3 separate regions of the Homo sapiens genome follow, and regions 2 and 3 are each linked to region 1. The links are contacts of gene promoters, found by promoter capture Hi-C in blood cells and fetal thymus (Javierre and others, 2016). All regions are on one chromosome and are shown on one strand. The core of a region is centred on a gene start or on the middle of the fragment in contact, and the rest is flanking DNA. Distances in the headings are between cores, read along the strand shown.

The links. The method cuts DNA at HindIII sites, captures the fragments that hold promoters and counts their contacts. A CHiCAGO score of 5 or more calls a contact.
Region 2: a fragment that was not itself captured here is called in contact with the fragment with the promoter of MAB21L2 in region 1 in 1 of 17 cell types (megakaryocytes); the score reaches 5.9 in megakaryocytes.
Region 3: a fragment that was not itself captured here is called in contact with the fragment with the promoter of MAB21L2 in region 1 in 1 of 17 cell types (megakaryocytes); the score reaches 5.1 in megakaryocytes.

Annotation. Positions count from the first base shown.
Region 1 is chr4:150,579,793-150,584,242 of GRCh38, reverse strand. MAB21L2 (mab-21 like 2) reads right to left here and starts at 2,092. Exons shown (of 1, transcript NM_006439.5): 1 at 1-2,092. The coding sequence starts at 1,213. The coding sequence ends at 134. The region is part of intron 40 of LRBA (LPS responsive beige-like anchor protein); the gene reads left to right. It overlaps LRBA-AS1 (LRBA antisense RNA 1), which reads right to left. Exons shown (of 2, transcript NR_149035.1): 2 at 3,009-4,450. The HindIII fragment of the contact is 6,793 bases long and covers 1-4,450 here.
Region 2 is chr4:150,457,368-150,461,817 of GRCh38, reverse strand. All of the region lies in intron 44 of LRBA (LPS responsive beige-like anchor protein), which reads left to right. Among named protein-coding and RNA genes, the nearest start is that of LRBA-AS1, 120 kb to the left of the region's middle. The HindIII fragment of the contact is 747 bases long and covers 1,864-2,610 here.
Region 3 is chr4:150,479,195-150,483,644 of GRCh38, reverse strand. The region is part of intron 42 of LRBA (LPS responsive beige-like anchor protein); the gene reads left to right. Among named protein-coding and RNA genes, the nearest start is that of LRBA-AS1, 98 kb to the left of the region's middle. The HindIII fragment of the contact is 2,221 bases long and covers 774-2,994 here.

The DNA.
Region 1 (4,450 bases), core at 843-3,342:
GGTCTTCTGCCGGATTCCTATTTCAGGTGACTTACATAAAAGTTTGTGTCCAGAGTTTCTGCTGTTTATAGCAGAGTTGTGTGTCTGAGAGAGCACGCCCGTTTGTGTCGCTTTTCAAGCAGTCCCCAGCACCCTATAGTTTGTCCAGGCTTTTGGGATTGGTGAGAATTTCCCTGGCCAACCTCCAGGTCTGCTTGGCAGCGCTCTCCAGGGCCGAATGGGGCTTGCCCTGAAAGAGGTCGAGGTTGGGCAGAAAGTAGTGAGGGCAGCGGCGGCACTGCAGGCAGGAGATGAGCTGCAGCAGGATGCCGTTGAGCCGGTCGCCCAGGCACGACTCGTCCCAGTCCGTTTCTCGTGGGTGTTTCTCGCACTCGTACAGCAGCAGCGTCTTCATGTGGTAGTTGTTGAGCGGCTGGCCGGGTAGCTCCAGGTGGCGGTCCCGCAGAGTCTTCAGCACTGAGAGGCACTTGTTTCGGCAGCCGCCCATCAGCAGGCGGTTCTCCGCCTCCCCGAACTGTAGCACCCAGGCGTCGCTCTCTGCCGAGCTCTGCTTGCCGGTCAGCGAGTAGCACTCCTTCGAGAGCAAGTTGAACCCTTCGGCCTTGACCTCGGCCACCCGATTGGGGCCGGGCCAAGGGATGTGGGGCATAGGCCACTGTGCCGCGCTGCGAGGCCAGATCCCGGTGCACTTGAACGCCGGAGTGATTTGCACCACATAGCGCTCCCTGATGCGCAACTTGACCTCGCTGGTGTCCGCGATCATCTTGACCACATCCCGATAGCTGCACTTGTCCACCGCCTGGGCCACCAGCGTCTGGAAACGCGAGCGGATCTTACGCGCTGAGAGATAGCCCGACGCCGTGATGAACTCGACCCAGAGAGACATGCTCCGCTTCCGCCCATCGCTCAGTTTGAGCACTGCGCAGCCGGGCAGCGAGCCGTCGTCCACGAAGTTGAAGACGCCCATCTGGTTTAGGTAGAGCACCACCTCAAATTCGGTGGGCGAAATGACCTCGAGCCCCTCGTAGCGGGCATCGATCTCGCTCAAGGAGCTGATGAAGCGAGGCTCCTGCACCTCCACTTCCTTGAGCACGTCCGAGACCACCTTACAGACCTCTCGGATGGTTTTGGCGATGGCCGCCTTGCGCGCCTGACAGCGCTCAGTGTAGTACTTATTGAGCTGGTAAACCAGCTTGGCCTGAGCGGCGATCATGTTGGGGCACAGGTCCGGGCTATACACCGGCGTCTCGCAATACGTTGAGGGATCCAAGGCTCACGCACTGGTGGTGGCCCAGCGGCTTTCGAAAGAGGCGGTGCGCTCCCCGTTAAGCCCTACTTTCACTCTCGTTTTCCACCTGGGCTGACCGGCTGATACCGTAGCCGGCTTGTTTTTTCCTTTTCCCTCTTTCGAAACCTCTTTTCTTCTGCAGAAGAATTAGGGGAGAAAAGGTGATTTTCTAAAAAGAAAAGTACCTCTTGGAACCTTTTTGCTTTCTCTTGATATGTAAAGATGACCGTGTGCGAGAGAAGCGGGGTGGGCGTGAGGAAGGAGAAGGAGAGGGAAAAAACTCAGGATACCAAAAGGTTAGGCTTAGATGTCTGCAGCCGAGATTGTCCAGAAATCTGGAAATGAGGTTTTTTAAGTGCCAAAGTAAATTTAAAAATAAAAGCGAAACATTCAGTGGTTCATTCTTAAACTTCTCTTCCACGCTGATAGGACTTCTTCGCTCAGTGTAGGTGAGTGCCTTCTTCCTCACCCTCCCCCAAATGGAAGGTGCAGGAGGTAATTAATGTCCAGAGAGCTGCGAAGTACAACTCAGTCCGCCGTGCACTTGGAGGTTTGCTGACGCCCCACAGTCTCAGCGTGTTGGTCTCGTCTCTTCTCGGGGGGTCGTGTTATCGCAGTTTTCCTCTTTTCCTACTGGAGGCGTTGTTTGGACTGGGTTTGTTTGTTTGTAGTGGGTTCTCCTTGTGTTTCTTTAGGTGCAAACCGCTGGAAGTTGTTTGATAATCATTTCTGCTTCGTAATTTATACTTTTGGCCCTCACAAAATCCGTTTTAGTGTGACGAAGTCGTTGCTTGCGTTGCATCTGGGGTGTAGTTATAACGATTCAGGGTTTTCCTTCTTCTCCTCTAGCTTGCTTTTACAGATTCCACTTTCTGAGTCGTCTCTCCCCCTCCTCTCCCCTCCGACCTCTTTCTCGCCCCGCTCTCCCCCTGCTTCTCTCCCCCGCCCCCCTTCCTCGTGCTCGCTCTCTCTTCTTTCCTCTAACTCTCTCTGTCTCTCTCTCTCCCTCTCTCTTTCTTTCTCTCTCTCCCTCGCTGTTTCCTGGAGTTATTTAGTTTATGAATGGTCCCAGGGCCATCATGAGGGGGTGGAGCTTCAGTTCCTACAATCGCTATCCGAGCTGTCAGTGCTTTAGCCAATCCGAGAGAGAAGACAGGCACGCTTGGCGAACGGTAGCAGCCACCACTGCACTTGATAAAGAAACAGGGTAAAGAGAGAAGTAAGAAAATAGGAGGAGATAATGGGAGTCAAATGCTTGCACACATTTTACAGCCGTTCCTCTTTATCCTCCTCTCTTATCAGTAGCAAAGAAGAAAAAGAGTTTATATAGAAGGGACTCTCCTGGAGATGGCTGGAATAACGCGAGGGAGAGTAGCAATGGTTCAGAAAGGTTCACTTTTTTTTTTTTTAAATGATTCTATCAACATTGTGTAGTAGAAGGTGCAAACTGTAACAAAATTACTTTGGCTTGAAGGCAAATGGGAAGCGAAAGGGGAATCTGGGAAAGGACCTAATTTTTCCAGGTTTTTTCCTCCTTTAAAGTCATCCTCCTTTCTCTTCCCCTCCCCTCCCATTGTTGCCAAGAATCAGAGCAGTTGCTGTATATGTGCACCAGTGAGGGTTGGAGTGGATATAAGGTGAGGGTTTATAAATCTCTTTTTAGTAATTTCGATATGCTGTTTAAAAACAGGGCAGGGCAAAAACTAGTCCAAGCACCTTGTTTGATAATTATTTCATAATTAAGATTCACATGTATTTAATACCATTATTTTATCGTTACAAGAATTAACTAGTTACGAGAGAGAAAATATCTAAGTTGTGAGAAATGGTGCAAACTTACATGTCGTAGAACTTAGTAGGATATACTTTTAAAATAAGCTACTAAAATTGCTTCAAACTTAATGAAAAACAAGGCAAGTAAATGTAAACCTAAAGTTTTCTTAAAATCTTACTGTTGTAAATCTAATTGTGAATGTATTCTTAGGGGGTACAGGTACAGAGTTTCATTTGTAAAATGATTTTATTTTCATAATTGACTCTTGCTTTTAAAAGACTTCACTGCCACAAAAATCTATAACTATCCTGTTATTGATTACACAGATGGCTTCACTCCTCCCTAGGCATTTCAATGAAAGGCATGCATGTGCTTTTAGTATATGTATTATCCTAAACGAGTTGTACCCACTGTAGCCTTTCCATACTTTTGGGTGAAAAAAAAAGCTAGAACATTGTTTCTGATTTGCTTGATACTGAGGGTTTATGTATGAACCTAAGATGTCTGGATTCTGAATCTTTTTAACGTATTTCAGGTAGATGTGATTATTTTTAGTTTGATTTGGGAGGTTATATTCCAGCCCTGGGTTATGCGATAAAAATAAAAATCTATGCGTCCATTTGGGTGAAGACTTCGTTTTAGAAACCTGGTAGTTCGGCTTTTTCAAAACCCCTTGGGAGGGCTTGACTTACCCTCTTAAAGTCCGGCCGGGTGAACCTGAATTGAATTGCATAGGGAAGTTAATTTCTTTCTATCTACTTGGTATCAGACAATTGGGCCTCTTGGTTCTTTCTTACATACCTGGTGCGGACCACAGGCAGTTTGTCACCCTTCCTCTCTCGTTGCCATAAGTCCCTTTCTAAGGAATATTTGCTTAAAAAAAAACTATCTCGGATTTGTTGCTTAGGGTTTGTCTTCCCGCGATTAGGAAGAAGAGTCAGAATTAAGTGTCCGCGCGACTCTTGGACTCCAGAGCTTTAGTTAACTTCTCTGGAGTGGCAGAGACTTGGGCTGCTTGACCTCCAGCCTTCTCCGGGGAGGCCGCGTGCGTCCCGGAACGCCTCGCCGCCTAAGGATCTAGGGGACCTCGCGCCCTCGGAGTTCGCGCCTGTGGGAGCCCGGCTCTAACCCGGGAGGCCTTGCCGGCGCTCTGGGAACTGCCTGGGCCGGAGGGCACTGCGCTGCCGGGAGAGCGCGACTGGCCGGGAGGGGCTCCGTGGTTGCTTCTCCGGGGGCAGTTACTGGGCGGAGACTGGTGGCGGGGATAGAGGGTGCGGAGCTTTCCCGCCCCACTCTCGAGGTGGTCGCTTCGTCGTTGCGTCTGGTTCGCGAATGGCCCGGCCCGCGACGCTCCCGAGAGTGAGTGTTTGCAAACAGCCTCAGGGGTG
Region 2 (4,450 bases), core at 988-3,487, 120 kb after region 1:
ATAATATGTATTTGTATAGTAATCTGGGTACCTTTTAAAAAAACCAGCATGTTCTTGGATTGAAATGCAATTGATAACTATTCCACTTGCCAATGAAAACCCAATTATCTTGGCTATGAAATTCACAAGACAGGATCATCCACTTTATTATTATTGTTAACTAATATTTATTGAGCATTTACTATATGCCAGGCATTTGTCTAAGTGTTTTGTGTGTGGTAATTCCTTTAACCTTCACAAAATCCCTTTAAGTAGGTAACATTATTGTTTTTTACAGAGGCAGAAACTAATGCACCATGAGGTCAAGTTGCACGTAGGTAGAATCAGAATTTGAACACTAAGTTTTCAACCTGTAGCTCACAATTGCGTTTTTAAAAAATGAATGGGATACCGTAGCATAACATAAAAAAGAAACCATCACTGTGCATATTGTATAAATCTTCTGCTCAATTTGTTTGAGTGTATGTACATGTGTGTTTTTTAAAGTAACATATTTCTTAACGTGAGCTTTGGCCCAGAAAGTTTGAGAAACTCTGTAATATGCCAATAGTGCCTTCCACTTTTGGCACCAGTTGCTGGTTCTGTTTTAATGTTATTTATGAAGTTGCCTTTCACTTCTCATGCTGAAGTACCTAGTACCTACAAGCAGCATGCTATTGCTTGAAAAAGGAAAGCTTTTTTTCTTTTCAAATTGCCCTACTCTTGTTGTCTTTATCCCAGGTTATGCTCCAGCCTTTTTTGATTAAACCTATTTTACAAAAAAAGCTGAATGTTCGGTTAAAACTAGAGGATCCCCAGTGTTACTGCTTATTCATTTGTTCATTCATTTATTGGTTGTTAATTGAGTACTGTAATATGCCATGGACTGCTAGTTTCTGAAGATGTGAAAGAATAAAATGAAGTCATTACTATCCTAGTAAAAGAATAAGCTGAAGATTTGGGAGAAACAGGAATGGCCAAGATAAAGCAAATACTTACTTTTTAATAATTACAACTCACATTTTTAAAATGAAGGAAAATAGAGAGTTTGAGGAACAAGGTAAAGAAAAATCTGTTTTTCATCTTTAGATTGTAACCACAAAATGAGCTGTTATTTTGGTCCATAGTGCAGAAACAGGAAAATAAAGAGTAGAAGAAAATGAACCTGCACCATGATCTCCTGATTCCTATCTTGCAACATAGGAATCAGAGGAAAATTGACTAAAACTGAATTTTAAATTTTTGTCTAAGCTCTAAGAAATCATGTTTGTTTTGTTTCGTTTTGTTTTTAAACCTATGTTACAATGCTAGACTATTCACACTCTGTTAACCTAGCAGTTTACATTGCCCTAGTTTGGATCCAAATAGTTCTAAAGAGTAGATTCTGACAAAACCGAAGAGAACTGAGTGACAGAACCATAGTGAATTTGTTATTCATTGCTGAGTTGCTCCTGTTTGTGCTTAGTATATGTTTCTGTTTCTCGCTCTCTCTTTCAGGAAAAGTAAGTGATTTTTTTTTCTCTCCTTCATGTATCTCCTACCATTTGGATGTATATTTTTATGTGTGAGATATTTCTGTTTAACACACACATTTAATATACAGCATGCATCTTGACCTGGAATTGACTACCGACATTTAACTGTTGTTGATCAGACAGCACTTCTTTATCTCTTTAAGTTTTAAGTGCTGTTTCTGATGAATGCCAGTCCTTTTAGTCTGCTCTGTAACAGATACACTGGGAATCAATATACCATCTAGATGTCACAGAGGGAAAAGAACACTCTTGGGGGTGGGGGGAATATTGTTTAAACTTGTTAGGTGTTATGGCTTTTACTTCATTTTTCTATTTATTGGGCTTCAGTGAAGCTAAAGGAATTCAAGCTTACCAAAAGAAACACATCTTATGATACTACAACAGTAAATAATAGATCTTAAATTGTTTAAATAAAATATAAATGCAGAGAAAGAAACTAAAAATTACCCCATACTTGATTATGTTTTGGATATGTTTTATTGGCTGACATAATATGTTAAAATAGTTTAATCTTGGCATCAAACATGGATGCTGTTGTATGCCACATTGATTTTAGAGATTATGATATAAATTACATTGTCTGGCCTTGGAAAGTTTGCAGTCTAATAAGCATAAAAATGATATGGGGAGAGTTCCCAACGTATTTGTAGGATTGTGAGGGAAGCCCTAATAGGTGCTTTCCACTATGACAGGCATTTTACATATGCTGTTTCATTTAATTCCTTCAATAACCCTGTAAGGAATGTGTTATTGTCTTTATTTTACAGATAAGGAAACTAAGATTTAGTGAGGTTAAAGAATTCTGGGAGGTCACACATTTTCCAAGTGGTAAGCTCAGGATTTGATCTCAAATCTGTCTGTCAGTCAACTGGTAGACTTTAGGTATAATCTGAAAGAACATTTTAAATTCAATACTTGCTTTATATCTGCTTCATTCCAAAATCCAACTACTCTTCCCTCTGTATTGTCAAAAAGCAAGAGATTGACTTTTTTGGAGAAATTTTACCAGACACGTTTCTGATATGAGAACACCAAGCACACCAGAAGGAGGGTTTAAGGTAAAGGATGGAAAACAGGAGGATTATAACTGAAAGCTTTAAGTACCAAGTCGTGAAAGCCCCTAGACCCCTTCTGCTGTCATGCTATTAGAACTGCGGCAGCTAAGCTTATACCATCCCCACCCCATAAGACAGAAGATTGTATTACTCTTTGGACATATTCACTGGCTCAAAAGAAAACACCTAAAAAAATAAAACATTTAGGGATTCTACTTCGAGCCCACTTGATTTCCCTTCAGTGAAGTCTACCAGTTCACATCACTACTTATGGTCTATATGCTCAGTCAGCTCTTCAGTGTCTCATTCTTAAAAATGGAGGTGCAGCCAAGTATTAGCAAACATTTAAAGACAACCTCTAATGTGAAAGATGACAAAGACCAAAGCAAATAGAAAATCAAAACAAAACCAGAAGAAACAGAGGCAATTTATGAAACAGAAGTGTTTTTTTAAAAAAAAAAAAACTAGAATAAATATTTTCAGATAAAGGGAAACTATTGCATTAATAGAACAAGAAAATTATGCTATGGAAAGTGAATAATCATAAAACAAGAAAGAGCAGTATAAAAATTAATAGAAGAGTTATAAATGCAGATATCTTCTAAAAGGAATATCAACATGATGTGGAGAAAACAGCCTGGAAAGATAAAATTAGACCAGAGCAGGGAATCTTTGGATTTAGATAGAGTTGTATATTCCTGTTACCATTTATAAGTAGAGAGACCTTTAGCAGATTACTTAATTTTGAGGATCCTAGGTAGCAAACTGTGTAGCTATTTAATTTATATAACCCTGAAGAAAATTTTTCATGGGTACACTGACCTTTTTAAATTGAATTATTACGTGTTCAATGTGGCATGTTAGTTTAAAATGTGTCTGTGCAACTCTTTATGTAGAATTTAATACTAAGTTCAGGAAAGTGGAAGCATATATATTTAAGGAATATATATGTATATGGATGTTATAAGGCATTTACAGGATTTGTTGAAGTTTTGCTTTTAAAACAGAATTAGTCCATTTATTTTGTATGGCTGTGTTTCGAAACTTACATCTTTTAAGCATTAGTACTCTGTATAGCAGATTTGGTTTTCTGTAGAAGTTATCTTCTAATAGAAGTTTTTGAATGACTCTAACAGACGTTAATTCTACACTTAATTCAAGCAGCCTCCAAAGACATTGTTTTTTAACATTAGTCAGAAAATGATAAACTGAAGCAACTGAAATGGATTGTGGTTAATATTACTGTCAGGGTGATGAATAATCCTGACATATACCAGCAACACACTGCCAGTCAGTAATCCTTCTCAAAGTTAAGTATTTATTCTCTAATCATGCTAAGTTACTGTGATGTGGAGTGACTATTTATTATTATTTATAAATGAATTGTTTTATTTGCATAGCATTATTAATTTTATCCCATAATGCTTTGTATTTGTTTGGTGCTGGGTGTACAAACTGAGGTAGGTTTAGAGTAGGGAATATCTACTGTGAATTTACATAGGAACTATTTTCAAAACACCTAGGAAATTTTTTTTAAGTTTAATTAGTAGTAGTAACTATCCTCCTGATTTGGCTATTTTTTTTTAATTATAGAAAGTGAATTTAGTAGAAGGACATTTAAAAAACATGTATGCATTTGTAGCTTTTAAAATATACTTGCATGTATCAACTTCTGATTCTTATCTTGCCTATGATTTTAAAAGTTACTTTGTATGTGAATATGTACTATGCTTTTTTACAGTGGATAATGTAATAAATATATTTTATTCTTATGTTCAAATTCCTGTCCAATTCTATTCTCCAAGTTCTATTCAATGTGTTTGTTCAAATAATTGTTAAGTATTTGCTGGGCATCTTTTGTCTACACTATTCTGAGGACTC
Region 3 (4,450 bases), core at 635-3,134, 100 kb after region 1:
ATTGGCAAGATGGCCAGGCATGGTGGCTCACACCTGTAATCTCAGCACTTTGGAAAGTCCATGTGGGAGAATCACTTGAGCCTAGGAGTTCAAGACCAGTCTGGGCAACATAGGGAGACCCCATCTCTATTTTTTTAACTTAAAAAAAGGAAAAAAGAGAAATAGACAAGCTGATTCTAAAATTTAAGTGAAATTGTAAATATCCAGAATAGTTTAAACAATTTTGAGAAAAAAAAACAAAAGACTTAATATAAAATTACATTCATTAGGATAGCTTGTTATTTAAGGATAGACTCATATAAACCAATGGACTGTAACAGAGTCCAGAAATAGACTCAAACATATATGATCAATTTGATTTTTGACAAAGATGTCAAGGTATGCCCAGGGGGGAAAATGATCTTTTTAACAAATGATGATGAACAATTGGTTATCCATATCCAAAAAGAAAAAGAACCTCACCCCTTAATTTTACATATAAATTAACTCAAAATGTAACAGAAAAAAACGTAGTGTAGACAAACGTAAGTGCTAAAAGTAGAACTTCTTGAAAGAACACATAGGAGAAAAATCTTTGTGACCTTGAATTAGGTAAATATTTCTTTAGATCTTTAATTGATTTCATTAAAATAAAAAACATTTGCTTTGAAATGCCAACTCTTAAGAAAATGAAAATATACGCCAGACTGGATTAAAGTATTTGTTCAACTTATGTGTGATAAAGCACTTACATCCAGGATATGTAGGAAACATACTATATAACAAGATAAGCTTGCTACAAAAAAAAAATGTAAGTTTTGAACAGATACTTCAACAAAGAATAGATATAGATACCGAATAAACACATGAAAAGATGCCAAACATCATTAGTCATCTGAGAAATGCTGATTAAAACAACAGTGTGATCCCATGACATACCTATTCGAATAACTTTTTAAAAATCTAACAATACCAAGAGCAGTATACAAGGCAACTGGAACCTCACATGTTGTTGATGGGGAAGTAAAGTGGTACGACTTCTTTGTAAACAATTTGGCACTTTCATATAGAATTAACCATACACTTTCCCATACATCCTAGGAGTCTCACTCTAGGTCTCTTACCCTAGAGGAATGAAAATATATGTTCATGCAATGACTGCTTCATGAATATTTATAGCAGCCATATTCATCACAAAAATTGGAAATAACCAAGATGGTTATCAACTGGTAAATGGACAAACTGTGATAAATCCATACAATGGAATCTATATAGTACTTAGTAATAAAAAGGAGTGAAGCACTAATACATGCAACAACACAGATGAATTTGAAAATATTATACTAGGTGTACAAAGCCAAAACAAAAGGCTGCATGTTGTATGATTCCATTTATATGACATTCTGGAAAAAGCATAGCTGTTAGGGACAGAAAACAGAGCAATGATTGCTAGGAGCTATGGGAAAAGAGGAAGAATTGCATACAAGGGAGAATAAAAGGAACTTTTGGGGATCATGGAAATATTCCATGTCATAATTGTTCTTACATAAGCCTCTATGTTTAGAAAACTCATTATATTGTACACCTAAAAATAATGAATTTTTCTCTATGTAAATTATTCTTCAACAAACTTGATTTTCAAAAACAACAACAAAGAATGTGTAAAGTTAATGAGGATGTATAGGTTAGGAACTTAATGTATATCATACTAATTCCACTCTTAGGCATTTATCAAGAGTAATGAAAACATACATATTCACATTTACTTTTAAGCAAATATTAATAGCAGTTTTATTCCAGTCTCAAATTGTAAACATTTCTGATGTCCATCAACTGTGAGTGGCTAAACAGATTGCAATACCTGTATTCACTGGAATAAATGAAATACCACTCAGAAATAAAAGGGAAATGACTACTGGTACATGCAACAACATGGATGAATTTCAAAAGTGTTATGCTAAATGAAAGAAATTAAACATTACGGGCTCCATACATCATAGCCATAGGCCATGGTTTTATTTATATGAAATTACTGAAAAAGCAAAACTACACAATGACAGAAAGCAGATTATTGGTTACCAGGGGCCAAGAGTTGGGGCAAGGGAATTAGCTGCAGAGGGTTATGAGGGACCTTTTAGAGTGTATCTTGGTTGTGGTGGTGGTTACAGAAACATATATATATATTCAAATCTCATCAAATTGTACACTTAAGTTTGATAAATATTATACATTTAATATAATGTATTAAATTATATCTCTTCCTCAAGAAACCACAAATAGTGCTCCCATGTGATCCAGAGTTCCCACTACTGGGCATCTATCCACACGAAAGGATATCAGTACATTGAAGAGACATCTGCACCCACCATGTTTATTGCAGGACTGTTCACACTAGCAAAGAGATGGAATCAGTGGTGTTCAGCAACAGATAAGTGGATAAGGAAAAGGTGCCATATATACACAATGGAATACTATTCAGCCATAAAAAAACATGGAATCTTGTCATTGGTGGCAGCATGGATGGAACTGCAGGACATTATATTAAGTGAAATAAGCCAGGCACAGAAAGTTAAACACTGCGTGTTCTCACTCATATGTGGAAGCTACCAAAAGGTTAATCTCCATATGAGTAAAAAGTAGAACAGTGGATACTCGAGGATCAAAAGGGTAGTGGGGAGGGAGAGATGATAGGGAGAGATTTGTTAAAGTATACAAAATAAGAGCTGGACTGAGGAATAAATTCTAAAGTTCTATATAACACTGTAGGATGACTAGAGTTAGCAGTAATACAGTTTCAAATAGCTAGGAGGAGGATTTTGACTGTTGCTAACACAAGTAAATGATAAATGTTTTAGATAATGGGTGTCCTAATTACCTGATCTGATCACTATGTCTTATGTATATCACATCACTGCGTACACCATAAATATGTACAATTATTACATCTATGTAAAACTGTTTAAATAAATATAAAAAATTAATTATATTCCAATCACAATTATTGAAAGATAAGCTTTCTAAGCATATTTAAAAATATCTAAGCCAAAAGTGCTTATTACATCTGTACATGTGATGCTGTTTTAAAAAAGTGTTTATTACAATCATTTTAGTATGTGCTATAGCATTATTTAATATACACATGATAAATCTGAAACTTTTCATCGTTTTGATAAAAATGATTGGATTTTGCTCTATTACATCATACAATTTTTTATTTAATATAAATATTAAATCTATAGATTAAGGATTTTGTAACTATATTTAATTAAAACCTGTATGTGTAGCCTCTGGTAAATCAGAATTCACATATTAGTTTTGTATTTGAATGTATGGACTTAATAACAAGTATTTATATAGTTGAAAGTAACCTAATAAGTCTCTGAGAGAAATGTTAAAATGGCAAAATATCTCTCATGGTATAGGGTATTGGGAGAGTGTAGGTGTATGCATCTTTCTCCTGTATGCTGGGACTACATTGAAGTAGCATAATTACTGATTATTTCCTTTCATAGTAGGTATTGATTCATCATCAATACAATTTAGTTAACTAATTTAAGAACTGGAAAGAGCGAACACTGGGATTTTTCTATTGATTGAAACATATTCGTGGTGGAAACGTACAGTTTACTTTTAGCATACCTAATTTGGTATTGAATTGAGCTACTTTTGATCAGTGTTTATTTTTAAATTTTAAGTATCCTATTACAAATGCAATTGCGATAGAATGCACAAACATCAGCTAGGATGTTAGTAGTAGCTACAGCCAGCCTGTGGCTGGATGGCTGTCAAAGGAATCTCTCATGTGCTCCTTAGCAGTAGGCCTCAGTTCCTTACCGAGTCAGTTTTTCCATCTGTTACTGGAGTGTTACATGACATGGGAGCTGGCTTCCTGCAGAGCAAGTGATCCAAGAGAGAATGAAGCAGAAACCCCAATTTTTAAAAATTACTTTCTCTTGATAGTTATACACCATCATTTCTGCTACATTGTATTCATTTACAAGTGGGTCACTAAATACAGCCCAAAGTCCAGGGGAGGGGAATTAAGCTCCACCTCTCGAGGATGTATTCCAGAACTACCACAGGTCACAACTTTTATGTAAATGGGGCAAATAAAGTGGTCCTTCTGGATTATAAGCTATGTTGCCTTACAATACCGGTAATGCTTTTGATTAGATAATTTTTATAATTTAATGAGGATTTCAGAGTTCAGGAAGAAGCAGCCCAGAGGAGCATAGTGGATTTCCTTATATTAGTTAAGAAGTCTTTTTCTACAAATTATCTCTTTATTTTAGAAAAGTTTTGTTTATCACACCTAGTATATGTTTTCATACCTGGGAATGTTCTGTAATGTTCTCCCACAGTTAAAGCTAGATGTCCTTTTTTTTTAAAGGCAGGGTCTTGCTATGTCACCCAGGCTGGAGTGCTGGAGTGCAGTGGTACAATCACGGCAGCTCAATCTGCTGGGCTCAAG